7 separate regions of the Homo sapiens genome follow, and regions 2, 3, 4, 5, 6 and 7 are each linked to region 1. Evidence: promoter capture Hi-C in 16 types of primary human blood cells and fetal thymus (Javierre and others, 2016). All regions are on one chromosome and are shown on one strand. Each heading gives the region's core, a stretch centred on a gene start or on the middle of the fragment in contact. The rest is flanking DNA. Distances are from core to core; before and after follow the strand shown. Region 1 holds the start of SLC16A7 (solute carrier family 16 member 7). Region 2 overlaps MON2 (MON2 regulator of endosome-to-Golgi trafficking). Region 3 overlaps USP15 (ubiquitin specific peptidase 15). Region 4 overlaps USP15 (ubiquitin specific peptidase 15). Region 5 overlaps USP15 (ubiquitin specific peptidase 15). Region 6 holds the start of USP15 (ubiquitin specific peptidase 15). Region 7 has its middle 20 kb from the start of MIR6125.

What was found. Contacts are between HindIII fragments. The CHiCAGO score rates a contact against its expected background, and 5 or more counts as called.
Region 2: a contact is called between a fragment that was not itself captured here and the fragment with the promoter of SLC16A7 in region 1, in 4 of 17 cell types (naive CD8 T cells, naive B cells, total CD8 T cells and 1 more). The highest score is 7.1, in naive CD8 T cells.
Region 3: a fragment that was not itself captured here is called in contact with the fragment with the promoter of SLC16A7 in region 1 in 1 of 17 cell types (activated CD4 T cells); the score reaches 8.2 in activated CD4 T cells.
Region 4: a fragment that was not itself captured here is called in contact with the fragment with the promoter of SLC16A7 in region 1 in 2 of 17 cell types (naive CD8 T cells and non-activated CD4 T cells); the score reaches 7.2 in naive CD8 T cells.
Region 5: a contact is called between a fragment that was not itself captured here and the fragment with the promoter of SLC16A7 in region 1, in 1 of 17 cell types (total CD4 T cells). The highest score is 8.6, in total CD4 T cells.
Region 6: a contact is called between the fragment with the promoter of USP15 here and the fragment with the promoter of SLC16A7 in region 1, in 5 of 17 cell types (total CD8 T cells, total CD4 T cells, activated CD4 T cells and 2 more). The highest score is 9.6, in total CD8 T cells.
Region 7: a contact is called between a fragment that was not itself captured here and the fragment with the promoter of SLC16A7 in region 1, in 4 of 17 cell types (non-activated CD4 T cells, total CD4 T cells, total CD8 T cells and 1 more). The highest score is 18.7, in non-activated CD4 T cells.

What each region holds. Positions count from the first base shown.
Region 1 is chr12:59,594,371-59,598,320 of GRCh38, forward strand. It overlaps SLC16A7 (solute carrier family 16 member 7), which reads left to right and starts at 1,659. Exons shown (of 6, transcript NM_001270623.2): 1 at 1,659-1,866. RefSeq lists a silencer at 1,588-1,657 and enhancers at 2,128-2,267, 2,318-2,467. The HindIII fragment of the contact is 11,642 bases long and covers 1-3,950 here.
Region 2 is chr12:62,469,632-62,473,581 of GRCh38, forward strand. All of the region lies in intron 1 of MON2 (MON2 regulator of endosome-to-Golgi trafficking), which reads left to right. Among named protein-coding and RNA genes, the nearest start is that of MON2, 4.8 kb to the left of the region's middle. RefSeq lists an enhancer at 1-20. The HindIII fragment of the contact is 1,333 bases long and covers 1,013-2,345 here.
Region 3 is chr12:62,384,914-62,388,863 of GRCh38, forward strand. The region is part of intron 11 of USP15 (ubiquitin specific peptidase 15); the gene reads left to right. Among named protein-coding and RNA genes, the nearest start is that of MON2, 80 kb to the right of the region's middle. The HindIII fragment of the contact is 417 bases long and covers 1,525-1,941 here.
Region 4 is chr12:62,325,338-62,329,287 of GRCh38, forward strand. USP15 (ubiquitin specific peptidase 15) reads left to right here. Exons shown (of 22, transcript NM_001252078.2): 6 at 535-596. Among named protein-coding and RNA genes, the nearest start is that of USP15, 67 kb to the left of the region's middle. The HindIII fragment of the contact is 2,165 bases long and covers 894-3,058 here.
Region 5 is chr12:62,274,756-62,278,705 of GRCh38, forward strand. All of the region lies in intron 1 of USP15 (ubiquitin specific peptidase 15), which reads left to right. Among named protein-coding and RNA genes, the nearest start is that of USP15, 16 kb to the left of the region's middle. The HindIII fragment of the contact is 2,252 bases long and covers 808-3,059 here.
Region 6 is chr12:62,258,086-62,262,035 of GRCh38, forward strand. It overlaps USP15 (ubiquitin specific peptidase 15), which reads left to right and starts at 2,319. Exons shown (of 22, transcript NM_001252078.2): 1 at 2,319-2,418. The coding sequence starts at 2,330. It overlaps MIR6125 (microRNA 6125), which reads left to right and starts at 2,274; the gene lies at 2,274-2,369. It also overlaps a transcript of TAFA2 not described here. RefSeq lists enhancers at 1,575-1,644, 2,195-2,554, 2,775-2,824, 3,548-3,950 and silencers at 1,905-1,964, 2,045-2,154. The HindIII fragment of the contact is 15,091 bases long and covers 1-3,950 here.
Region 7 is chr12:62,237,966-62,241,915 of GRCh38, forward strand. It overlaps a transcript of TAFA2 not described here. Among named protein-coding and RNA genes, the nearest start is that of MIR6125, 20 kb to the right of the region's middle. The HindIII fragment of the contact is 6,086 bases long and covers 1-3,950 here.

The DNA of each region.
Region 1 (3,950 bases), core at 409-2,908:
TTAATTGTTGAAAAAACAAGACTTAAAAAGAAGGTTACGATATCATGCTATAAGTAGTGATGTTTGGCATTCAGCAATAGGTTAAACAGGTCAAGAACATGGGACTATAAGAAAAAAACAACAAAAAAGAAAAATCAAAGAGAAGGAAAAGGGAGAATAGGATCAAAATTCAGAAAGCATATGGTCTTTCTTCTTCCTCTTCTTTGACAGGAAATAAAAGTGATGAATGAGCAGGAAAAATATCAATAGCAAACACTCAAGACTATGACCTTGAAATGTGCCTTTATGTTGTTTCTTTTAAATGTTTAACTTTTTTTAATTAAATGAAGTGTTTATAGTCACTGCTAGACATTTCATCATTATCAAAGGCCTATTATGTCTTATACAAATGTCTATTTAAGCATTTTTAGCTTAAAAATATAAAATCCTTTCTGTAATTTTCTGCCTTTTTTTCATTTTCAAATATCATTCTTTCAATAAAATTATCTTCCAGTAATTTTGATGTTATTAATCACGATTATTTTTTCATCTTGTATTATGCCTACCAGCCACTTCATGTATATTATTTCACTTAAATCTTATGAAATCAACACGATTGATATTACTTTTATTTCATAGCTACAGAAATTGAAATTCAAATTTCGTCCATTACAACAGACTAGCTGTGGCAAAGACAATGTGAATTTACCCAAATGACTTAACTCTTTTTATAAATTCGTAAAATGTGAAGAATCATAGAACACACCTTAAAATGATTGTGAAATCAAGGAGGAGAAAGCTAGCTAAACTGGTAGACAAACTGCAATAGGACTTGTCAAGCCAAAACCTACAATTATTCTTTTGGATAGTTTCTTTTTCTCTAAAGTGGCAATTTAACTTAAAGATATTAAAGAAACCCAATCTATGGGGTTACTTAAATGTTCTCTTCCAGCCCTTCCTCTTTCCAGTTTTACCAAGAAGCACATTTTAGACAGGGGAAGAGACCAAACCAATGACAGCAGAATTACCATTATCTCTAGCACTATTCGTTGTCAAATAACTAAATGCTGGTTTGAAGAACTAAGTAATTTGAGAAATTAAAAATGAAAGGAATTATAAATGATTTGAAAAAAAATCCTTCTTATTTTTAATGTTTTTTGGTGCTGTTTTCTATGTCCTTCCTCCTATGGTGTCAATTATATTTTTTTCCGTGAAGTGATTTGGTTGGTGAGTCTAATCTCCAACAGTGCCCTACCTCTTTCTCCCAAAAAGGCCTCAGTTGAAAAATGGCTCAACACTTTCCCTGCAAGCTCACAATGAGGATCTCCTATTCTCCCTGCATTCGGCCAGACTCTTCTTTTTTTGCATGCTTTCCTCTCCCATGCTTGGGTTGCACAGAGCTACCGCACATCTGTCTTCTAGGTCAGGCTACAGAGTACTTCGGATACAGCAAGTTACGACCCATCTGGAAAGACAGATCTACCTGCCTTTTGGCTTTCTTCCTTGGTCAAAACTAAAATCCGAAGTGGAGTGCCCCGAGCGATAGAGAAAGTGCCTATAGCTTTGACAGCCGCTTGGAGCATGCTCAGTCGGTCTCCAGGCACCGGGAGGCGGCTCCCCCCCACCACCCCCCGGGCCGGCCTCCACCGCAGCCTGTCCGGCCCCCACCCCTGGCGCGCGCTCCTCCGCACCCACAAGGGCGTTCAGCAGCCGCGCCTCCCCTTCCCGCCACCGCCTCCTTCTCCGCTGGCTGTGGCGGGCGAGGACACGTCAGGGGCCATAAATAAATAAATAATTCCATTCACCCGTTGACAGCGAGGCGAATCGGCTGCGGTTTGCTGGGAACGGAGGGCTGCAGCGCCCACCCTGCGCCAGAGACCAGATAAAGTAAGTACAGCTGGGGAGGGAGGGGAGAGGAGGAGGAGGAGGAGGAGGTGCCGGCTAAGAGGAGGGCGAGCCTGCGTCTGCGACCCGAGCTGCCCGCGGAGCCGCACGCGTGTGTGCAAATAATGGCCAGCCTGTGACAAACGTGCCAACGCAGAGTTGGCCAGCGAGCCCTTATATAGACAAAAAAATCCCGAAGCGGCCGCGGGAGCAGAGCTCGCGTCAGCCAGTGCGCGCCGACAGCTGCCCGGGAACTGAGGGGGCGCGCGGGGTCCTGGGCAAGGAGCGCCTCGCGTGCTTTCGGCCAGGAGGTGCTCACGCTCTCGGCTTTTACACCGAGACTCAGCGTGGCGCGGTGCACCCCAGTCTCCCTGGCTCACGGGACTCCGAGGGCTGCTTCCAGTGCGGCGTGTCTCTAGTGCGCGCCCCGCCAGCATCCGGCCCCCGAGCCCCCTAGGGTGGCGTGGCTTCATTGCCGCAGAAGGTGGAGGCGGGGGTGGAGTGTGTGGAGAGAACGTCTTCTCTTTGAGCAGATGATCAGGACAGGAAGAGGCTGTGAGGGGAAGACGAAATACCGGGGGATGGGGGGGTTGTCTTTCTTCATTTTTGGTCCCCAGGAAGGATGGCAGGGGTGGAAGCAGATGGAAAACTATATGCGGGCGAGGCCTGAGCCCAGGCAGAAAGGGACCTCTGACTTGGCAAGGGTTCAGGAGGGCCTGAGCCTTCTGGTCTTGCTGGGCCACTGCACCACATTGGGGGCGCCAGGCCCGGTCAGGTGGCGCCACAGGCTGCGAGCCCGCTCACGTGCGAACTGCCTGTTTTCTCAGCGGATGCTGCATCGCGGCGCCCTTCTCCACCCCCTTTTCTCCTCTACTTCCGCGAAAAGGATTGCAGACTGCCTTGGAAAGGGCGGTCGTGCCCAGTGCCACTTTCCCGGTAGGGCTGAGGAGGGACTTCTGTAGTTCCAATTCCAGGGAAATTAAAATTTTACACACACACACACACACACACACACACACACACACACACACACACACGAGACATAGAAGAGGAAACGAGGAGTGGTTTCTCTACAATTGTTTTTTGATTTCCTTTCCTGTATTATTTCGTGTCCTCCTTCCCTCTTGGGTCCCAAAGGAGATGCGGCAGAGGAATAAAATAGCGGACAATGATGAAAGTGATGGGAAAAAGACTGGACCCAGAGGAAAGAGTGACTACTGGATGCCATTTCCTGTCACCCCATGCTTCATGGCTAACCCCAGTCTGAACTCAGAGGGTTGCAAACTTTCCACAGACAGGTTAGCTTGAATGTGTTGTGTTACTGGAACCACAAGCACTAAGTATGCATTTGGTGGAGTGTGGCTGAAAAATGAGAGTTGGGTGGGGACAGCAGAGGGCAAATGAGGGTTGAGCAAAGTGACTAATATTTAGCTCTGGTGAAGCAATCCTAACTCCAGGTTCTACTTCTGACTGAGCAGATTACATTTAAAGCAATCCAAGTGAGGGACTGAATGATCTCAGTGGAAAGGAAAGATTACAACCGTAAGAAACTCAGTGTATTGTGTAACAACTTACAAACTCAGAAACTATTTTTTGCAAATACAACAACAGTTTGCAGTTACATATTACTTTTTTCCCCCCAAGGCATGTTTGAATAATAAGTGATCTGAAATTTTAACATCTGTTTCCCGATGTTCAAATTAGTGTATCCTTCTATAAATGCTCAGTTTATTTCTAGACATTCATTTGCTCTTTGATAATGTCTGGCTTATATTTTTGGCTTTGAGCTCTTTTAAAGGGAAGGAGAGCAACATTACCTAAATAAACCTCCCTTGTCTGGAGTCATATTCCTGGATCACGGATCTGAAATAAAAGGCATCTCCAGAATTTGCTTTTAATTCTGTATTCATCCACCAAACATTTTTGAGACATTCACATGGAAAAAGGGAATTAACTTTAGAACAGATTGGTTCTGCACTTTTGTAAGGTTGAGTAATTGTTTAACAATCTGGGCTTTACCTTTTTCTTGTCTATAAAATGAGATTGGTGGTACCCACTCTGAAGTGATATTGGGAAGAATGAAGTGT
Region 2 (3,950 bases), core at 429-2,928, 2.9 Mb after region 1:
GACAAAGGTTTGACTTTCAAGAAATAGTTTGGCTGAATTAAATTTTCTCTGTTAAATTAATAAGAGTGCCAGATTTTGGCTTTTGTTCTTCAAGAAACTGGTAGGATTTTGGTTTTATTTTTCTCTTTGGTTGCCAACTAAACTTTAAGGCAAAGTCTAAGAAGCTAGTTAACAGAGACATTTTATATTTAGTCTTTATTTCAAATTTTTAGTCATTTCTGTCTTTTATGGCCATAGTGCTTGACTATTATTTTATTTATTTATTTATTTATTTATTTATTTATTTATTTATTTGAGACAGGATCTCTTTCACCTAGGCTGGAAGTGCAGTGGCAGGATCTTGGCTCACTGCAGCGTTGACATCCTGGGTTCAAGTGATTCTCCCACCTCAACCCCCTGAGTAGCTGGGACTACAGGTGCATGCCACCACACGCAGCTGATTTTTGTATTTTTTTTGTAGAGACAGGGTCTCACCATGTTGCCGAGGCTTGTCTCCAACTCCTGCGATTAGGCAATCTGTCCACCTCCTACTCCCAAAGTGCTAGGATTATAGGCGTATCCCAGGCTGCCCATGTAATTCTTTTTTAAAATTAATAATAAGCTGGATTTAAAGATTTCAAATCTGTTAGAAAAACCAATAAAAGAGTATTGATAAAGAATAGTGCTTTATTTACTGATATTTACTTACTGTCTTTGGACTTCTACATGGTTTTTCCTACCTTACTGTTTTCATTTATAACTCTATCCTTTGTATATTAAATTGTTGTTGTAGTGGCTATGGCTTTATTCTGTCATTTTATAATAACCTCTTTCTCTTTTTTTCTATTTTTCTTAGTTGTTATACATAAATCTTCATGTTTTAGCAGTATAACTTTTTTTAGTACAACTGTACTAGCTAATTTGGGAATATTGTATGAAATTTTTTCCTTTGTTTTAAAAATTACTTTGAAGCCTTCCATGATCACTTCTATGTGATTAATATTCAGTGGCCTTTAGAGGAAGACAACTCTGAAGCTTTATGTTTATGTATTTCATGAATAAAAACTTTCTTATTATTTCCTATTTGCAGGTACAGATGAGGGGTATCTAACTGAGCCTGGAAGTTGGAGGAGGGGAGTCATTCCTAGCAGAGGAAATAGCACACGTTGTTAGTATTCCATGTAAAATAAATTTTATACTGAAGATGATTGGAGCCATTAGAGCTTTTTGAAAGAGAGTAATATGATCAAATTGATATTTAGTAACATTGCCTTGACAGTTGGTAGGAAGAATTAGAGGGTATTGAGACTGAAGCAAAGAGAGCAAAGTTTAAAAAATGATGATTCTCTGTTTTGAAGCAGTAGTGGACATAGACAGAAGGTTGCTTGCATTGAGTTAGACAGTAGTGAAAGAGCGTATAGATTGAAAAGGTAAAAATTACCAAGGCATGGTAATCTTTTATATAATGGAGAGAGAGAAATGTGTGATGCCTCCCAGGTTTCTGGCTTGGGAAACTAGGTGGATCACTAAGAGAAGAAATAAAAGAGGAGGAAATGTTTTGGGGGAAAATGAGTAGTCATGTGTGTATATTGTTTGAGACGGAGTCTCTGTTGCCAGGCTGGAGTACAGTGGCACAATCTCGGCTCACTGCAACCTCCGCCTCCCAGGTTCAAGTGATTTTCCCGCCTCAGCCTCCTGAGTACCTGGGATCACAGGCGCGTGCCACCACACCTGGCTAATTTTTTGTATTTTTAATAGAGACGGGGTTTCACCATGTTGGCCAGCCTAGTCTCGAACTCCTGACCTAAGGTGATCTGCCCGCCTCGGCCTCCCAAAGTACTGAGATAGCAGGCGTGAGCCACCACACCCAGCAGAGTAGTCATTATATTAAGATTTATGTGTGACATCCAAGTGGAACTGACCAGTAGGTGTTTGAAAATGATGGTTTGGCACTTAAGAGGGAAGTCTGGAATTTCAAATTTAGGAGTATCAGTTTATAAATAATATTTGAAACCATAGAATTGGATGAAATGGGCCAGGAAGAGTGTGTGTATAGAGTGAGAATATCAGGACTGGAAAAGGAACTGTGGGAAACAACATTAAAGAAAAAGGCTGCTGGGCAGACTGAGGTTAAAGATACAGGAGAGAAAGGTAAAACTCGTTAGAGGAAGGTCCTTGAGAAAACTGAAGTTTCAGTGGCATAAGTATATGAACAGGATTTCAATCTGAGAAAGGACACATTACCTTCTGACAGAGGAAGGACAAAGGAAAAACCGGGTTTGAATGTGACAAATTTGACAGAAGGGAGCGACAAGTTGTGGGCAGTTTGGTCTGTGGCCTCTGCTTTCTTGCGAAGATAAGAAACAAGCTTGTTAGTAGGAATAATTAAGTGATAAAAGAAGTAGGGGGTGGCAAGTTTGAGGAGAGCAGTGGATCACTTTGGAGAAGTGGAGGAGAAATTGTCTTGGAACACTTAAGAGTCTTAGCAGGAAGAGTGGTTGAAATAATGGTGGATTGTGAGAGCTAGGTTGGATTCCCAAAGAAGGAAAGCCAATAGTTTGGATTGACTGGATGATGATGGGAAGGTTAAAGGCTAGCAGCACCTATTTCATCAAAGAGCAGTGGGGTTGGGGAGTGAGAGAGCTAGAAGGATAGGAGTTGGGACAATGGTGGGAATATTGCATTTCAGATTGCCCAGCACTAGAGGATGATGAAGTCCAGGGAATGGGTGGTAGAAGAGTAAAGGGAAAGAAGTTCATTTGAGTTTAGGTGGTCAGAATTAGGGAATTGGATAGATTCCTTTTCTCTCTTTTTAAATGATGCAGAATCAGTAAGGGTATAAATAATTTAAAAGTGCAAGTAGTCTTCCTAGGCTATGTAGTTTAAGTTTCCTGTTACCCATTCAGGCCTAATAGAAATTGGCTGGCAGAGAAAAGCAAAGGTTTCTTGTGATAGAGTTCCTCAGTATCCAGGTGTTTTGCTTTGTTAACTGGCTTAGGGAGACCCCTAGTGAAAGAGATGCCTTCTACTTACTGTGACAGGATTTGCCATTTAATCAGATATTTAGGGACTGTGACTAATGTCATTGGCTCTCCTGGTTGGGTTAACACCTCATTTGCACGACCTTATGACATTGAAGATGAGGGCTGGATAATCTTTACGAGCTTACTTGGGATCTGTTTTGGTTTAGTATTTTATAATGTGGTTTCTTCCTCTTGACATTGTGTTCTTTCTCCCATAAGCGTAATATAATATATTCATGCTTTATATATTGAAAGCTATAAACTGAAATAAATGATTACCTGTGCTTTGGTGACAGAAAAAATAAAAGACATATTCTCTAACTTATAAGCCAAAAAGGAAGACATATTTCAAAATTTGATTTATTTTTCTTTTTTCCTTTATGTAAGCATAGCTGAACATTTTCAACCATGTATGAAGTAGAAGGTTTTGCTGTTACTGTTATAATTTAACAGAAATTTATGAGTCTCCTAAAAAAGCACAGCAGGAACACAGAAATAATTGAGAAATTGCCTTTAGTCTCATGAAGTTAACTCAAGGTTGAATAAAATGTTGCCTTCCCACTAGGCTTGGAACTTTGCATCCTTAGACTCTAATGCAACATGCCATATTAAATATTTCATTTTACAGATGAGGAAACTGGTATAGACAGGTTTAGTAATTTGCATAAGGTAGTAAAGCTGGAAAATGGTGGAAATGGTGGAAATGGTATGTGAGTCCATGTGAGTCCATCTCTAACTCCTCTCCCATTTTCCATTATATCATGCTGCACATGCCTTTACAACTTTCTTGTTTTTGTTATTGTTCCCATTTGTTTACCTTGCTTCATTATTTGTTACTATTGGTTATTCTTTCCATCTTGGAACCCTCTAGTTTTGAGTTTTGTAAGACTGTACTTCCCTGTTTCCCCTCTCAGTATTCCACATCCTTTTCTTTTTCTTTTTGTTTCT
Region 3 (3,950 bases), core at 483-2,982, 2.8 Mb after region 1:
ATTATTTATATTTTGTGGGTAAAGCACTATCTTTTCTCCCTTATTTATTAATCAGTTAATCCTCTTCTGACACTTGACCCATCCCAGTGAAAGTAACTTCTTCTTTTTCTACCTCTCTTTCCCTAAATTCTAACACTTAACTAATTTTGTTATAACTTTTGGCTTACTTTTATCTTTTATCCCTAGACTACAAGTCTTTGAAGACAGAGACCTTGTAAACCTTTGTATTTCCAGCTTTTGTGGCTGGTAAATATTAATGCACAAGAAGTATTCAAAAATTTTATTCATCAAGATACTTAACTATGCACCTACTAAGTATAAAGCTCTTTGGCTAAACAAAAAAGATATGATTCCTGCTTTAGAAGATTGTTTTCTGTAAATTTTTAGCCAAATAGCTCAGTTTGTTAGTGCATAATAGTCACGATGTCTATATGAAAGCTATATTTGAACAAAATTATGATCTTACCATTCAGGGATGTATTTGGGTTTATTGTCAACAAAGACAGGGTATATGTAGTGTTCATAAACACACAGTCCTTTTATTCAAAGTAATTAAAGTCTAGTAGATACTAGGTATGTACTCAGTTATGCAAATTTAAGCAATTTGTTTTTCTGCTGCTTTATGTTTTCTTTATGAACTCATTGAACACAATGCCCTCATATCAGTATTTCACTGGAGAGTGCTAAGTACTATCCCTTATCTGTGAGCAGAGCCAATAAAGACCTGCTTTTACTTTTGGCCTGGGGAATATGTGTTCACATTTTTAAAGTTATATCCTTTAGATATTCACTTATTCACTCGTTTATAAGTACAAGATTGTCAACATTCTTTTCAATGGTGAGAAACTATAACAGTGCCAAACCACATCCTTACCTCTCTAGTTTATAACTTTGCAGATATACACCAATGAGTGTAATGGAGCAAGAGAGCGTAGAATAATAAGTATAAATTTACTGCAACAAAAAATAAATGTAGATGTTTTATTTCTCTACAGCACATTTGTTAGAGATAATATTCTCCCATGCCAATAATATAAGGTAATCTATATCAATAGTGGCAAATTGCATTAATTTACACATTAGTCCATAAGGTATATGATAAGTGCTCTTCCATAAATTGGGCTCTAAATTATTTTTCCAGCAATGTGAATTTCATTGACTTATCACTTTTCTCATTTGGTGACCAATAATATAAATTTGCGGAGGTTAGAGCCATGGTTAGCACAGAGAAATTCGTTTGTTTTTGTGTTTTGTGTTTTTTTTTTTTCCTTTTTTCCATTTAGAGGCAGTAACAACTCAAATACAAAATGATCACCTCATTTCATTAACACTATGCTTTGACCAGCTTGTAAGAAAAGTGAAATTAGCTGAGTTTCCCTATTTGTTGAGTTTTCCCGTCATTGAAGTTGATTTAGGTCATGGAAGCTTATTAGGAAAAATATTGAATATATATTATATCTTAGGCTCTTATGCTGTGCAAGGTGCTAGAAATATAATGGTGTTTCTAGTCCTTGTTCTTCAAGAAGCTTGTCATACAGTGTGAAAATTGCTCTGACAGGGTGCTGCAAGAGAACACAGAGTAACCTACCCAAACTGGTTATGAGGCCTGTGATAAATTCTGAAGGACAATTAGGTTATAAGCAGGTGAAAACTAGAAATAAAAGCATTATAGGCCAAGATAATGGCATGTACAAAGAACTTATGGGAGAAGAGGACATGGCCCACTTCTGTAATCTACAGTAGTTAATATGGCAAGCAGGAGCTAGATCACGAAGAACTTTGATGCCAGTATAGGAAGTTTGAACTTCATCCTAAAAACTAGGGAAGCCATTAAAGACTATTAAGTATAGATATTATATGGCCACAATTATGTTTCAGAAAGATGATTCTGGGTAGCACAGAGATCAGTTAGAAAAGGCTTAGTACTAAGACCAGGTAAGAAGCTTTTAATGATCAGACGACAGACAAATGACAAACACTTCAACTCTGTCAGGATGGCAGTTTGAAGAACCAGTTGAATGTAGGAAGTGAAAATGTGTAAGTATATTCAAAGATGATGCCAAGTTTACTTGACAGGAAAAGAGGAGACAGCAGTGCTGTTTTAGTGGAATATATAGGAAGAACAAGTTGAAGAAGGAATCCATTTTAGTATTGAACGTGGTGGCCTAACATGACCCAAACCTGTGTTTAGTATTGGATATGCTGACTTACAGATGCATGAGGAACACTTAGGTAGAGATATCCAGTAGGCATTGAATTTGTGTATCTAGACCAAAGGAGAGAGACTGCTTTAGCTATAAATTGGACAATCAGCTCTATGAAAATGATAGTGTTTTAGAAGGATGAGATTACTTAAGGCTAAGGTGACCCCGTGATTTATCATCTAAACAAGAACTCTTGAAAATAGAAGGGACTGTCATTAATAATTATACTAGGATAGCAGGCTAATCCAGGACTGGCCAAAGCAAATCAGGAGACACTGTTGCCTCTTCCAAGGAGAGCATATAAAATTGAGAAGAAGGCTAAAGACAACACTCTAAAGAACAATGTAGGAGAACTTCAAAAGAGGAATATGATCACAGCAATAGAAAAGAATTAAAAGTAGTCGTGTTATAAGGAAAGGGAATTTTTTAAGGAGAAAGTGGTCAGCAGTCATATTACAAAGAGGTCAATAAAATAAAGACTGATAAGTTGTACAACATTATTGGCAACCTTGGAAACAAGTTAAATAAAGAGGCGAAGACAAGCCAGCAAGAGGGTTGAGAAGTAAATGGGAGATAAGGAAGTTATGATAATATAGATATCATTAATAAAGTTATTTATAAAATAGAGGAGAAGGGGAGATAATTAGAGGGAAAGCAATGAGGTACCCTTGTTTTTTGAGAGACTTTATATTCCAATGCTTATGCAAGAGTTGAGATAAAATGGAAGAAAGAATAATTGCTTGGTTTAGGTCCCAGAGAAAGCAGAAGAGCATGGGATTTAGAACATAGACGCTAAGGTTAGCTTTGAATAAGAAGAGAGACATCTTTCTTTCCATGTGTTGCAAGAGACAGAAAAGTACCTATGTGGATTCAAAGAAGTTAGTAGAACAGGAAGTTGGAGATTTTCCCACCCAGTAGTTTCTGTTTTTGAGATGAAATAGGTATTCTGCTGATATTAAGGGAGCAGTAGTGAAATAGGAAGCCTAAAGAATGGTGAAGATTTTTTTTTTTTTTTTTTTTTTTTTGTTAATGAGACAGGGTCTTGCTCTGTCACCCAAGTTGGAGTACATTAGGGTGTGATCTCAGCTCACTGCAACCTCCGCCTCCTGGGCTCAAGGGATTCTCCCGCCTCAGACTCCCAAGTAGCTGGGACTACAGGTGTGCGCCTCCGAGCCCAGCTAATTTTTTGTATTTTTGTAGCAACAGGGTTTTGCCATGTTATCCAGGCTGGTCTCGAACTTTCGGGCTTAAGCGATTCACCTGCCTTGGCCTCCCAAAGTGTTGGGATTACAGGCGTGAGCCACTGGGCCCAGCCCAATGAAGATTTTAAATAGTTATTGAGATAAATGAGAGAATAACCACATGTGTGATATGCAGAATTATTTCTGAGTACTGTCAAAGGATCAATTGATATTGGGCACTGTGGATTTGTAGCACACCAGCCTCTAAAATTGGGAAATTCTCTTCAGCACATGTGAACAGCTCTGAGAAAGTTTAGCAAGAGTGGAATGAATAGAATTGAGTAACAAAGACATTAAAGGTTCGTGATAAAGCATGTAGGGCCTGGATGGAAGGGCTAGAAGACAGTAGGGAGCTGGTAAACTGGGAGAAAACAAGAGTTAAAAGGAATAGAAATCTCTGTGCAAGACAAGAAGAGATAAGAATGAATTTCCAGGAGAAGCAAGAAGTAGTGGTTAGACAGTAACCCGAGTTTAAGATACTAAAAGTGGGGCCGGGTGCAGTGGC
Region 4 (3,950 bases), core at 726-3,225, 2.7 Mb after region 1:
ATTGTGATAATGTAAATACACACTAATTTCAAAACCCCAAATAAATTCTACATAATCTGTAATTTGGAATTATCTGTGTCGCCCTTCGTCTGCATTTGCATAAAAATAAGTTACCCAAGATCCTATGTAAGTATGTTTAACAACTGCAAACATTTATTGACCATCTGTTATTTACAGAGTTCTCTGTTCAACCTACAAATACAAATAGAAAATATATTCTCTAAATTCAAGGAATTTATATTCTGTTTACTTGGTTTAAGTTTTCTTATACTTAATGGAACCAATAGTTTCTTTACAGTTTATCTTCTAGGATTCCTTCTCACTATCATTACTGATTTCTTGTTATTTGAGGTCTTTTAGTCTCACCTGCCTAGCTTTGGAATCGAAATGCAGATTACCTGTTCACCTTGTCTACTGTTTTCCTTTAAATAATCACAGAGTTACTTTAGTTTCTTAGTTTATCCAGCTATCTTCTAAAGTTATTTTAACTTCAGAGTTATGGAAAAACACCCTTTTATTGTGTCATATTTGCAGGTATTAGTGATAGAACAGAAAAATGAAGATGGAACATGGCCAAGGGGTCCTTCTACTCCTAAGTAAGTGCTCCCACTTCTTATGGCTTATTGTATGATTTTGAAGCCCTTGATGCTAGATAATCAAATCCACAATGATAGAAGAACCTAGATGTGTATTGCAGAAATTCATGCCTTGTTTATATTTGAGTATTTTGTTCTTAGTATACAAGCTATCTAAATTTGCTCTTAATTAATATGTTACTATTTTAAAAGCCTCCAATTCAAATATCTTAAGGCATAGTATAAATGTATGGTATAAATGAGAAAGTTGCGTTGTCTGATACAGTCAAATCATTAAACATTTGTTTAATTTCTTGAAGCTTTTTCGTGGTTTTTAAAAGTATCTTAAAATATTTCTTTATCAAAATGAATCTGATGTGAAAGTAATATATTTATTCAAATGAAAAGTTTTAGAATAAAAAAGAACAAATAGAGGTAGAGGAGTATATGAGGTATTTTTGAGGGTAAATGAAAGAAGAATTAGGAATCTTTTTATCTGTTTTAGAACTAATAGATCTACACTCCATTATCAAAACACAAGGCCAGTTGTGTTTAAATATACAGACTTCTCAAAGCTCTAAGAAGTAATATGGTACATGTCCCTCCATTACTGTAATGTTTCTGTTTCTGCAAAAGGACACTTCTTTATAATCAAACACATTAATATTTTTTCAGCAAATATTCACACTAAGTGGGATAAATAAGGACTATAAATAGCATTATATCAGTTCAGGTTAGGTTGCCACCAAATGAACTGTGAAAAAATTTTTAAGTTTTTGGAGCTTTGGAATTTCACATGTTCTGATAAGGGATTGTGAACATATATTTTGAAATTCTTAAAATAATGATATTTTTAAAAAACTAATAACAATTTAGTACATTTTAACCAAGTGAATAAAAAAATCTGCTACTTTATTTGATTTAAAACTACAATGCCCTCCGGGTGCAGTGGCACATCCCTGTAATCCCAGCACTTTGGGAGGCGAAGACAGGCAGATCAAGAGGTCAGGAGTTTAAGACCAGCCTGGCCAACATGGTGAAACCCCATCTCTACTAAAAATACAAAAATTAGCCAGGAGTGATGATGCATCCCTGTAATCCCAGCTACTCGGGAGGCTGATGCATGAGAATCACTTGAACCCAGGAGGCAGAGGTTGCAGTGAGCTGAGATCGTGCTGCTGTACTTCCAGCCTGGCCAACAGAATGCGACTTTCTCCAAAAAATAAATAAATATAAATAAATAAAATAAAACTACAATGTACCTTTTATAAGTGGTTTTCTATCCTTTTTTATCTTACGTGAAATTTTTTTTTCCCATTTAAAAATATCATGAGAAGGCACCTAAATATGTTAATTACATGGAGGTGATTTTTATTCTTACCCTACTTAGTTGGATGCAGTACAAGGGTAGAACTTAGTATAAAAGTAGAACTTTTAAGAAGATGTTAATATTAAAAGCATGTGGGTTGAATTATGGAGATTTCATAACTGATGAAGGTTTAGATAGGAATATTTTTTGTGAACATTTACTTTTAGTCTTCAAAGCAGAACCACTGTTGTTTCCTAAATGTTTAGATTGCTATGTACTTGCTATATCTTTAAGTTATTTTTGAAATTACAAAATTGTTTGTGGATTAATATTAAAAAAAACCCATGAGTTCTAAAGATTGAGAAATCTTTTCTACTTAAAATGACTGATTTTTGCCCAAAAGATGACTAATTTTATATTTTCTTTTATTCCCTAATAGCACAATATCATTTTTATTTATTCCAACAACTTTAGTACTTGGCTTTGTGTGAAAGAAAACAGAATTCCCTATGTAATACCCAACACACCATACTCATGCAATAAATATTGGTGAATACAGGTGCTGTACTAGAGATGACAAAAGTACAATTAAGAGTCCTATTTTTCACTGGATCTACTAGTTGAATAAGGATGCCATATACTAAAGCATAGAAAAGTTAAATATCCATTCCCTATAAAATCTAAGAAATACTATGCAGTAATATGTCATAAATTGCCAAATAATAATTTACTGTAATACAGAAAAAGATCTGCACCTATGTATGAAAAGATTCTCAGAAAACTAAGAATAAAGGGAAATTCTAACTTGATACATCCTGTGCACCTCAAGTCTATAGCAAAAGTTACATTTCATTGAGAAATTTTGAGCACAATTTAAGTAAGAGGAGAAGATAAGAAAGAAGAAATAAAGTTCACTATTCGTATATGATATAGTCATTTGTATAAAATCCAAAACAGCAAACTACTAGAACTGAGAAAATTCAGCAAGGTTGTCTAATATAAGATTAATTTATAAAAAGCAGTTGTTTTTTCTATACCGAGAGATCAGCAATCTTTTTTAAATGTTTTCAGCTTTGTGGGCCATATGGTCTCTGTCATAACTATAACTGCTGATGTAGTATGAAAGCAGCCTTAGACATCATGTCAAGACATGGCAATGCCTGTGTTCCAATAAAGCTTTCTTTGTAAGTAGATGGCAAGCTTGGATTTGGCCTGTGAGCCATAAATTTCTAACCCCTGCCATTTATCATGAGAAACCCACTTAGAAAATAGTCTAACAAAAATTAACTTAATTAAAAACGCATAAAACCTTCATGGGAAAAAAAAAATCTAAGTTTATTAGAAAATAAAAGATTGTTATGTGATATATGGCTTAACCTAGTAATGCCTGTTTTCTTTAAAGCACATCAGTGTCTCCTGTTCAAAATTTTTTTTTTCCTAGAAACTTGACAAATTCATTTTAAAGTTAGCATAGACCAATACAGGTCCAGAATTAGCTGAGTCAGTTTTGACAGAAAGAGGAAGGAAGGAACACTAGACCTACAAGGTAAATGAGAGTTACTGTAAAATTATACTAATAAAAACAACATAATGCTAGCAAAAGAAAGGCAAATAGATTGGTATAAACTAGTAATCTCAGAAAGATTCATGTATATTTGACAACTTGGTATATGATGTGGCACAACTAGGTAGTGAGGTTGCTTAAAGAAGATGATTATTTAGATTTAGTAGGAGTACTGGCTATTTGGAAAAAAAAGCTAGATCCCTACTTTCAACTTTATATGCAAAGGCTAACTCTTGAAGGATTAAAGACCTAAATAAGAAATATAACACTTATATTTAATGAATTCACTTATATTTAGTGAATATTCACTTATATTTAGTGAATAGTAGGCTGGGCATGGTGGCTTATGCCTGTAATCCCAGCACTTTGAGTGGTCAGGAGTTCAAGACCAGCCTGGCCAACATGGTGAAATCCTACCTCTACTAAAAATACAAAAATTAGCTGGTATGGTGGTGGACACCTGTAGTCCCAGCTACTCGGGAGGCTGAGGCAGGAGAATCAC
Region 5 (3,950 bases), core at 684-3,183, 2.7 Mb after region 1:
ACACTTTGTACGAAAACCTTATATAAACATTAAACATTTATATTATGCAGATACTAAGATTTTAAACAGAAGTGAGATGATCACGTTTGTGGTTTTAAAATGTTTGGCAGCAGAGTGGAGGACAGCTTGGAAGCAAGCAAAACTTAAAGTAGTTGGACAAATCAAGCAGCTATCATAGTAATCTATGCCACTAAAAATAGTGTGGAAGGGGAGCTGCAGAACTAAAGTACTTTTCTGAGGATGAAGAGGCGAGGGGCAGACTCTTAGAAATATTCTGGAGGTGCTTGGTTAATGGATGTTATGGAGCGGGGAATATAGGTTAATATTCTGGTTTGTGGCTTGGGAAATTAAATTACTGATGAAGTCACTTGTTAAAGTAATAGTAGAGAATGGGTAAATGGAGAGAGAGAGGATTGACTCAAGGTTGAGATGTCTGGAAAATCCAAGTTGACATGGACTAATAGGAATTGGAAATACGATTCAAGAACTTGAGGACTAGCTCTGAGATGCAGATTTTGGAATTATTGATATGAATTATAGGAGAATATAAACAGTGAAAGAAGAAATCAAAGAGCAGGGCTATGTAATACATTTAAGCAAAAGAGAAGGTTGTAAAAAAAATTGGGAGGAGTATCACCCCCCCACCCAAAAAAAAAAAAGAATTACAGAGGCTAATTTTTAGAGGGATTAATAGATATATAAAATTATGAATCCGTTGGATTTGTTAAGGTGGTCATTGGTGATTTGTGAGGGCCCATTAGACTAGGAAGACCTGTAAGTGAAAGTTGAGGAAATGGAAACTTGAGAAGCTTGACTGTAAGGACAAGTCATAAAATGAGAATAGATGAGAAAATACGAGAGTTGAGAGGTGATATGAGGGGAGAGGAGGAAAAGACTTAATCCCTGTTGAAATGCTGGTAGGAAAAGGTCTCCAAGGAAGCAGAAGGAAATTAGATCCACAGCATAGGAGCAAAAATTATTGGCCTGGGATTTGAGGAAGATTACTTCCTCTACTGATACGTAAGGGAATCAGGTAAGATTCAGGTGTGATGCAGTAGAGTTGGACAGGCTTCTGACTGCTTTGTAAGGTAGGTAGCAAGGTTGTTCAACCTAATGGGTTAGAGACTAGGTAAGACTGCCAAAGGTTTGAAATAATTATTGAGGATATAGAAGGGTATGCTATGGACATGGTGGAAGATTACAGGTCATCTTTGAAGGACTTGAGAGATTGAAAACCATAGGTCTTCAGTCTCTATATCATTTTCTTTAGTAACTATGAACCCAGATAATATTAACATTATGATAAAAATAATTTCAGATTGATGTATGTAAGAATCGTGTGTAATGACCAGGTATGAGGCACCCTCATAAAATTCCTTGTAATCCTCTGAAACAGGAAGATTATAGTGATTAAGCCATAGATCTTTTAGATTATACATTGGTACATTTACTTCATAACTTCTTTACAGGAACACAGTCAAATGTCTTAGTATTCAGAAATACTTCACCTTTGGTTTCATTTATAAAGCATTGACTCCTTTGTATAAGAAATTTAGCCTGTTCATCACAAAACAATTTAATTACTACTCTGGGCTGCTCAAGATGGTTTGTACATTAGTATTTAGATGAATTTTAGATGGTTGCAGGTCTGTAGTTAGTATAATATTTGGTACCAAAATTTGATCAGCTTCAAATCAGTAAATATGTCAGTTTTGGAATTGTTTGTTTTGCTTATATTATCTTCCAAGATATAAAGGGTAATAATCTGTCCTTTATGTGCTTTTCCTTTTATATGAGATATCACTCATATAAAATCATATATGAGATAACACTCATTATTTTTCTGGCTTATTCACTGGTTGCTCTAGTTACCAAAAGGAAGTATTTTCTCAGGAATGAATACACTACCGTATATCAGAATCACATTTTGATAAATTTAGAAATGATTGCAAATGAATTGTGCTTTTCCAAGTCTTGAAGAAAATTCTTCAAGACTTACGTAAATTTTTAATTAAAATCTAATGCAAATTCACCTGTTTAGAAAAAGTACAACTATAAAAAATAAATACAAAAGATCATATAAAGTTATGAATTTTTTCAGAAATAAAAAGTAATGAATAAAAACTGTGCCTTTTATGCATTTTGCTGTGTATATTTTGTCCCAATTTTTAAATGTGTTTGTAATTAGTTTTCTTATTTTTATGCATAAAATTTCCATTGTTGACTGTCACTGAACACTATCACTTTTGCTAGCCTCAATATTATTCTTAGTCTATTTGACTGTACTTCATTCTGTGTGCATATATGTGAAGATGTATCTATACATAACTTCTGTGTTAAACAAAAGACGTTTACTCTTGCTGTTAAAACTTTCTGGCAGATTTTGGATAACCCTCCTTGCACCACTTGATAATAACTCACAAGCTGCAACTCTTCTGAATTCCACTTCCACAAGCAGACAATCTTTTTTAAGATAAAATGTCATGTTTATTATGGTATTTATATATTTCCTAACCATTCAACACATGTAAAGCTGTGCTACTGTTTTTATTATCTTCTTTAAAACATGTCACTGACAGTGCTTCAGCAAGAGAAGGAAGGGGATGGTATTAGGGAAGCATGCAAACCTGTACAGCATGTTACCATACTGAATAGTGTAGGCAGTTTTAATATAATGTTAAGTATTTGTGTTTCTAAATATAGAAAAAGAACAGTAAAAATGGCATATAAAAGATTTTTTTAAATGGTACACTTATTTAGAACACTTACCATGAATGGAGTTTGCAGGGCTGGACGTTGCTCTGGGTGAGTCAGTGAGTTAGTAGAGAGTGAATGTGAAGGCCTAGGGCAGGGTTGTCCCATCTTTTGGCTTCCCTGGGCCAAATCAGAAGAAGAATTATTGTCTTGGACCACATGTAAAATACACTAACGCTAAAAATAGATGATAAGCGAAAAAAAAAATCACAAAAAAATCTCATAATGTTTTAAGAAAGTTTACGAATTTGTATTGGGCTGCATTCAAAGGTGTCCTGGGCCACCTGTGGGCCTCAGGTTGGACAAGCTTGGCCTAGTGCATTAATGTACACTGCTGTAATCTTTATAAACACCATACACTTAGGCTACACTAAGTTAATTTAAAAATATTTTCTTCAATAATAAAATTAACTTTAGCTTACTGTAACATTTTTACGTTATAAACCTTAAAAATGTTTTAAATGTTTTTGACTCGTTTGTTATAACACTTGGTTTAAAACACCAATACATTATACAGCTGTACAAAAATATTTTCTTCATATCCTTATTCTATAAGCTTTTTTCTATTTCTAAATTTTTTCTAATTAAAAAGTTTTTTTGCCGTAAACTAAGAGACAAACACACATTAACCTAGGCCTGCACAGTCAGGGTGATCAGTATCACTGTCTTCTGCCTCCATATCTTGTCCCATTGGAAGGTCTTCATGGGCAGTAATATTCATGGAGCTGTCATCTCCTGTGATATCAGTGCCTTCATCTGGAATACTTCCTGAAGGACCTGCCTGAGGCTGTTCTACAGCTAACTTTTTTTTATATATAAGTAGAAGGAGCACACTCTAAAATAACGATTATAGTAACAAAGTATAGTAAATACATAAACTCATAACAGTTGTTTATTATTGTCAAGTATTATATGCTGTACATAATTATATGTGCTATACTGTTGTAAGATTGGCAGCACAGTAGGTCTGTTTACACCAGCATCACCGTAAACATGTGAGTAATGAGTTATGCTACAACATCACAATGGCTACATCATTAAGCAAAAGGGCTTTTTTAGGTACATTATGGTGTATGGGACCACCATCATATATGTAGTTTGTCATTGGCAAGAAAGTCATTATGCAGTGCATGACTGTATACAGATGGTCCTCAACTTAATGATGGAGTTACAGCCTGCTAAACTCATTAGAAATT
Region 6 (3,950 bases), core at 1,069-3,568, 2.7 Mb after region 1:
CAATTCCTTATCTATAGACTTGAAATAATAATAGTACCAAAATCATGTGATTGCTGTGAGAATTAAGTTAGTATTTTAAAGTGTTTAGAACCATGCTAGGCACTCTGTAAGTGCTTGCTAAATAAAATACTATAATTTTATCTCTTTCCTGACTCTGATGGCAGTTACTTAGGTCTACAAAACGGCTCCATAAATCTGATGTATAATTCAAATTGGCATTGAATTTACACGTCTATATCCAGTTAACCTGCTGCCTTGAGCATGGTGCAAGTGAAGAAAATATTATTTTACTTCATTGTATGGTTGTAGCTGTCAACACTTCAAAAATGCATTTTCTCTTAAGGGAAAGTGGACATTAGGGTATAAATGATTTATTGCTACTTGGTTATGTTATGTTTATACAATGAAGGAGAGCACAGTTTTGCCTTCAAAGCCCCTAACACCTTTTTTCAATAGCTTTATTGAGGTATAATTCACATACTGTACAATTCACCCTGTCATCAATAAACAATACTAGTGTTTATTGAATGGCTATTACGTCCCAGGCAATAAACACAAATTGTTTCATTTAATCTTCATAAAAATCCCTTAAGGTAGGTATTATTATACTCAATTTTATGATTCAATTAAAGGGCAAGAACTTTGCAGCTAAAGGTTGAAGTGAGGTTTGAACTTACATCCATGTAGCTCCAATATATGTTTTCCATATTCTGCAGCTTCCCTTCAGAAAATTACTTTGTTCTCTTTCAGAGAGTGACTGGAAAAAGGGGGAAAATGTGACTTTTAGAGGGTAGCCGTGGTTAGAGAAACTCTTAATCTTTTAACCTGTCAGGAGAAAAGCCAGAAATAGCAGTCACTGAAAGTTGTTTTAAAACTCTCAATTCAAGGTTGGCATGATAATGCAAAATAGTATTATTACGCAGAAATAAGCAATCATAATCATAATACTGATATACACAAATCATAATGCCAATATACACTACTTTCACTTGGATTCAGCACTTCCTACTAGCATAACTACACCTACCTTTATCGCATTCTCACCAAATGAGTTAGGGTTTAAAATGGGCAAACGAGAAATGATGTGGGGATTCCGGCCCATCTTTTAGACTTTTCACATCAATATGGTATGTTAAAATCACACCCCTGGACATCATGCTCGGGAATACTTAAGTAATTTTGCCACAATTCATTTACTAAACAAATATTTAGGTAATTTTTACATGTCCATCAGTACTGTGCTAACCACCAGGTGTACAAAGGCTAAAACAAAAGATGAACCCAGTTCCAGCTCTTAAAGAGTTTACATTTTAGTTCAGGCTTTCAGAAGGAGAGGCAGTGAGTGTGCTATACTGTATAGCATGTGGGCTCTTGAACCAGCCTCTCCACTCACCTCTCCACCTGCTGTGTGACCTTGGCATTTGATTTTTAAGCGACTCGATTTTCTATTTTGTAACATAATCGTTGACTTCAAATTAAAGACATATCTAGTTTCATTTCAGGTGTACGGCACCATACGAAGATGGGGCTAAGAAAATGTTACTATCCTGTATAAACAAGAGGGTTTCTCGCACGTTTTCTTCCTTTAGTATCTGGCATTATTCAATACTGTCCATATTCTACTCCCTGTTCACCGATGAACTGGGACATGTTTTTCACTGCAGCTTAGTCGTCTGGGTGTGCCTGGGGAGGCGTCACAAAGAGCCTATAAAGGGTCCCCACCTACAACGGGAGTAAGAGCGCTGGAAGGAACCCAGGAAGGGCATGGAGACCAAGCGTTCGGTTTCGGAGTGTTTTTTGTGTGTGCCCATATTCACCGAGCTTGGGTTCTCCCACTCGTAACGAAAAGCCCAGTCACTGAGCTGCTACATTTTCTGCCATATCTTAGCCGTCCCCACGCCCCCACACCACCGCCCCACCCTACCTCACCCTCAAGCGTGAGTGAATGCGCAAATAAGGGTTTTCAAGGCGTCAGTGGGAAAGAGGGAGGGGAAGGCAACGCTGAGGACGGGAGGACAGGGCGGTGGCATCCCTCTAGCGAGAGAGAGCCAGAGCCCTCGGCGGCGAGGAAAGCTAAAACCCGGCAGTCCCGGGCCAGAGGAGGCCAAGGCAAGATGCTGGACGGGCGGGGACCGATGGGGGGCAGCAGACCATGGCCGCGCACCCAGTGCGCCCCCGGGGCCTCCTCTTGTCCCGAGGAGCACCCCCGCTCCCGGTGTCTTTTGGTTTCGACCGGCCGACTGGGAGGGGCCGTGGGACGCCATTCCCATAATGCTCTGGGGCGTGCCGCCGCCGTCGCTGCCACCTCCCCTACCGCTAGTGGAAGAAGATGGCGGAAGGCGGAGCGGCGGATCTGGACACCCAGCGGTCTGACATCGCGACGCTGCTCAAAACCTCGCTCCGGAAAGGGGACACCTGGTAAGAGAAAGGGGTTGAGATGCCCGCGGTTGCCCGAGGATAGTGGAGAAGTGGGCGGGAGCCGCGAGCTGGTTCTTTCGCTAGTGACAGGTGCGGGCAGGTCCGGCGGCGGCCGCCGGGGCAGCGGGATTTTGGCCGCTTCTGAAATGTTGGGGCAAAGGTTGGACTCTAGATGAGGGTCAGGGTTCTTGGCTTGCCAGGGCATGCTGAAAGGTATCCGGGGAGCGGCGGCGGCGGCGGTTCTGACTCGTGCGGTTCTCTTCGTCCTCCTTCCTTCCGTAGTGCCGCTCCCACCTCAGGCCTTCCCGAATGATAGGTTATAGTGGTTTGGTTTGAGTCTTATATACGCCGTTTTGACAGGTCCCGGTGCCGCGGCTTATCACGATCTCACCGGCTTTACTTCTCTGTTCATTTCCTTTCCTAGAATTGTCGGCGTCCAAGTTCCCTTTTATTCTGATTCTTGGTCTTCCGGGAGGCAGGCTGCAGGATGTTTGCGGTCTGTACTACACAGGTGGCATGTCAGGGCTCCACATAAGAGAAAGAAACCCTAGTTTCCAGTTCCTTGTCAAAGGAGGGAGAGGAGTAGGGAACCTTGGGCTTATGAGAGACCACGTGGTCTTGTGCTTTAGTGGTGGCTTGATAGAAGCCGGCAGCGTTTCTGTTAGACGTGCAGCCCTTCCCTTCTGTTTGAAAGATAATGTAGGCCTGCAAAAAGTAGATAAGTCCACTTGAGGCTTAACTAACTGCTAATATTCAAACTTGTAAAATACCAAAGGTTATACATTTAAAATACTGAAGGATGTATGTGGACATTTTCACACTTGTCGACCATATCAAGTGGCATCTACAATAACTTAAATATGTGAATATGTAACATAATTTAAAATTCCTTATTTTTTGGGAAGCATAATGTGCCTCTTCATTATAATAAAACATATTTTCACTTTCCACTGTTACCATAACAGTAGTATATAATTCATAGAGTGTTTCAGTATGGCATAGTGAAAGGAACAGTAAGATTTAGACCTGAGTTATGTCACAGTTTCACCACTCAACTTGCAGTATGGCTTTGAGGAGAGTTAATTTAAATCATTGCACCTCATTATCTTCATGCTGTAAAATGGACAGTAATTTTATTATAAGGATTTTATCTTGATTCGTTTTAATATCTTAAGAATTTCATATTTATGAGATATCAAATTTTAGTTATCCTCTTATCTCTGCTCTTTACTCCTGACAAAAGGCTGTGATATTGGGATCATTTTCAGTTAAGCTAATAGGTGGCAGACTTAGGACCTTAATTTAACCTTGATCTAAGTCTTAGTCTCTTTTTTCTTTTTTGGTAGGCTATATACTATGTTTGTATGATAGAAATCCCTAAGGATGTAAATACATACTTGTTTCATTATATCAAAAAAATAGAATCTTCAAGTGACTTAATAATAGTTATTGTTGGCCTGGCAGGGTGGTTCACGCCTGTAACCCAGCACTTTGGGAGGCCGAGGAGGGAGGATCACTTGAACTCAGGAGTT
Region 7 (3,950 bases), core at 543-3,042, 2.6 Mb after region 1:
GAGCAGAGTTTCATGAGCTGGGGTCTCCAGTCCTGCCTCTGTTCTTTGTTGCTAGCTAGACTCAGGAGTTTTTCTCCCTATAGGCATTTGCAATGCTTCCCATGAAATAAAGCAGGAATGGTTTTCCTGCAAGGGAACCCAGGATGGTGGGAAAATTGGCTGTCTCCCTTGATGTCACTTTTTATAGTGTGGAAACAATGGGTTTCCACATGGCATCTGGCAGATGGAAGGAGGGGCTTGATGGGTAGAAAAGTCCATTTCTCTTATTGTCTTCTCAGAGTTTCTCAGTGCTTTGTGGTCCTAGGGGTCATCTCAGCCCCAAATTTAAATTCTAGGATACTGCTGGCTATAATCTTGGCACCAGATATTTGTTTTCAATTTTCCGTGGGGAAGAGTGAAGCCAGATTGCTTCCACTTCACATTTTGGTTACATCACTCAACAATAACCATTTGTTTTTGTGAGCACTTTCCATGTGCCAGGCACTGTGCTAAATATTTTACCTACATTATCTCATTTAATCCTCCCAACAGCTCTCTGAGTTAGGAACTATTATGTTCCTATTTTACAAATGACAAATCTGAGGCTTGGAGAGATAAGTAACTTGCCCAGAGTTAGACATTTTGATTCCACAATCCAAACCCTTAATACTCAGTAATTTTAATTGAAACCTTCAATTTATAAATCTGACCATCCCACAAGATTTAGAGCAGAAATTATACTTTATTTATCTTTTTAGCCCTGATAACTAGCATTGTCTGAAATATTCTAAGTACTTACTAAATATTTGTTGAACTAAACCTAATCTATAATGACTTGTATTTACAAGTTATCAGCAGAACTACAGTATACAGTATATGGATACGTAGGTATGTTTTCTGTATATTTATATATATCCTAAATGTGACTGATTATCCTTGGACCACTCTTGCTCTGCCACTGCAGCTTCCTCTAAGCCAATTATAATCCATCTTTGCAATTCCAGAAAACAAATGTCTGATTCCAAGACGATTTATAAATATGCACGTTTTTATGAAACAGAAGAACAAAACTTTTTCCAAATTCCCTTTGAAGACTTTAGATCTTTTCACAGAATTTCTCTTTCCACAGAAGCCAGCCTTTCACTCCCTTTTTTCCCTCTGTGCCAATTTCAGTTATTTCTACCTCCAGAGTTTTCTCCCTGACTGTTCAATCTATAGTGAAGATAAATTTAGCTCTTTCTTTAGGTTTATTCCATTTCTATCTGCAATGGGCTGATTATATTTTCTAAAGGTGACCACCACAATAAATCTCATACCACAAGCCCACCTCTTAAGTGCTGTTCATTCTTGGTTCACATCTTTTTCTTGATGTATTCTTCCTAAGTAATTCCACCTTATCTCTGTATTTTAACTACCATTAGTATGCTAATGGCCCCTGAATTATAAGCACTGATCCTCATCTTTAGACTTTTACACAAAACATTATAATACAAATCTCATTACAGAATGACAGTGATACTCCTCTCATCAATTAATAGCTCCTCTTTTTAGTTTTGGTGGACAATTGTGACTAGTTCAATCAAAAGAGCAGGGTAGGAGTGATGCTAAATGACTCCCAAGAACAGATCACAGAAATGATATGCACTTCTACCTTGTTTTCTTGGGATGCTCCCTCTTTTAACCTAGCCACCATGTTGTGAAAAAAGAAAAACAGCTGCTTGTAGAGGCCATGTGTAAGTGATCCATCTGACCAAGAACCCCAACTGAGGTCCTATGCAACAGCCAGTATTAACCATCAGATATGTGACCGAGTGAGTCTTCAAATGATTCCAATCTCCCACCATTGAGTTATACACCACCCCATCTGATGCTGCATGAAGCAGAAGTGAGCTGTCCCCACTGAGCCCTTTTCAAATTGAAGTTTCATGAGTTAAATAAATGATTGTTGTTGTTTTAAGCCACTAACTTTCAAGTGGGTTGTTACGCAGAAAAGATAACTAGAATAGTCAGCCAATGCTTCTCTCAACATTACTAAAGATCTACTCTCCAAGAAGGACAGAGAAAGAGTATAAAAAATGTTTCTAGTTATATATATTATATAACAAATATATATGTTGCATAATTATATATATTTATCGTACATAAATATATACTAAATATGTTATATAATGATAATAATAAAAACAAAACTGGGCCAGGCTCCGTGGCTCACATCTGTAATCCCAGCACTCTGGGAGGCCGATGTGGGCGGATCACCTGAGGTCAGGAGTTCAAGATCAGCCTGGCCAACATGATGAAACCCTGTCTCTATTAAAAATACAAAAATTAGCTGGGCGTGATGGTGTGCACCTGTAATCCCAGCTACTCTGGAGGCTGAGGCAGGAGAATCTCTTAAACCCAGGAGGCAGAGATTGCAGTGAGCCGAGATAGCGCTATGGCACTCCAGCCTGGGTGACAGAGCAAGACTCTGTCTCAGGGAAAAAAAAAAAACTAACAATAATTAATTTACTGTATAGTAAACTTAATGTAGTTTGTTGTATGGTTTATAATTGTAATGCTCACATATGCTTTTAAATTATTATAATGTATTATTTTTGCTAGTATTATTTTTATTAATATTATCACTAAGTCCCAAGATAAAGCCCTTGGGAATCATGACAACTAGTTGAATGAATAGATTCCATTCAATTATTTTATTCAAATTTTGGCATCTACAATGGTTGACCAGAAAAATAGCATCCATTATAGAATACATCCAATAAAGCAGGGGTTCCCAACCCCCAGGCCACGGACCGGTAGCAGTCCATGGTCTGTTAGGAACCAGACTGCAGAGCAGGAAGTGAGCAGTGGGCAAGTGAGAGAAGCTGAGGTCCACCTTCTGTCAGATTAGCGGCGGCATTAGATTCTCATAGTAGCATGAACCATATTGTGAACGGTGCATGGGAGGGATCTAAGTTGCATGCCCCTTATGAGAATCTAATGCCTGATGATTTGAAGTGAAATAGTTTCATCCCAAAACTATTCTCCCACCCAAGTTTGTGGAAAAATTGTCCTCCAGGAAACCAGTCCCTGGTGCCAAAAAAGGTTGGGGACCACTGTTTTAAAGGCTTATTCTGTCTACTTTTGCAACATGTTATATAAACTCCTTGAGGAAGTATGTCTGATTTCGGTTTTGGTACCAACCAGCACCAAACACAGAACAGTAGAACTCATTTCTAGGCTCAGACACTCCCTTTGCAGCACATGAGGAGAGTTGCAGACCCAGAATCAAGGGTAGTTAAGCAAGCAGCAAAGATAGGAAATACTAGCAATTGTTATTTGGACTGTAACTATCCCTATTTTTCTTTTGATGCCATAAAACTAATTTTTCTTGGCTGCTAATCAAAGAAAAGCATGACCATTATAGCAGCCAAGCATTTCTCCAGGAGAGGTAAATGTAATTCTCAGATTCAAGAAGTTTTTAGCTTGACCTCAACCTGAGTGGACTTACCAGGCAAATGATGGCTGACTCAGGCAGTCTGAATTTATAAGTACTATTGCATTTATTCGTTGCACTATAATTTCTTGTTTCCATTGTTGTGTAATATTTTAGCCAGTAAATAATACTTAATTGGCTTCCTAATTATCAGGCATGGAGATCTAAGGTGGCTTTCATTGCAGAGTTGTTTTCTGACATAGGGACTTACAGATTGTAGGCTTGAATAAACCCTTGAAGATTTGTATGTTACCTACATTTGGAAATATTATAGCTAGCCAGACTTTTAATATTTTAAACTCTACATTCAAACATGAAAGAAAGAATGATTAATACTGACCTGCCACTGAATATGACCTTATCATCACATCCTATAGACTTCTAATCTCAGTTTTCTTCATTAAAAACAAGCACCTCATCAAAATTCCATGCAACAAACAAATATTTATTGAATACCCACTTACACAAGTCCCTGTGCTACATGCTTTAAGTGAGG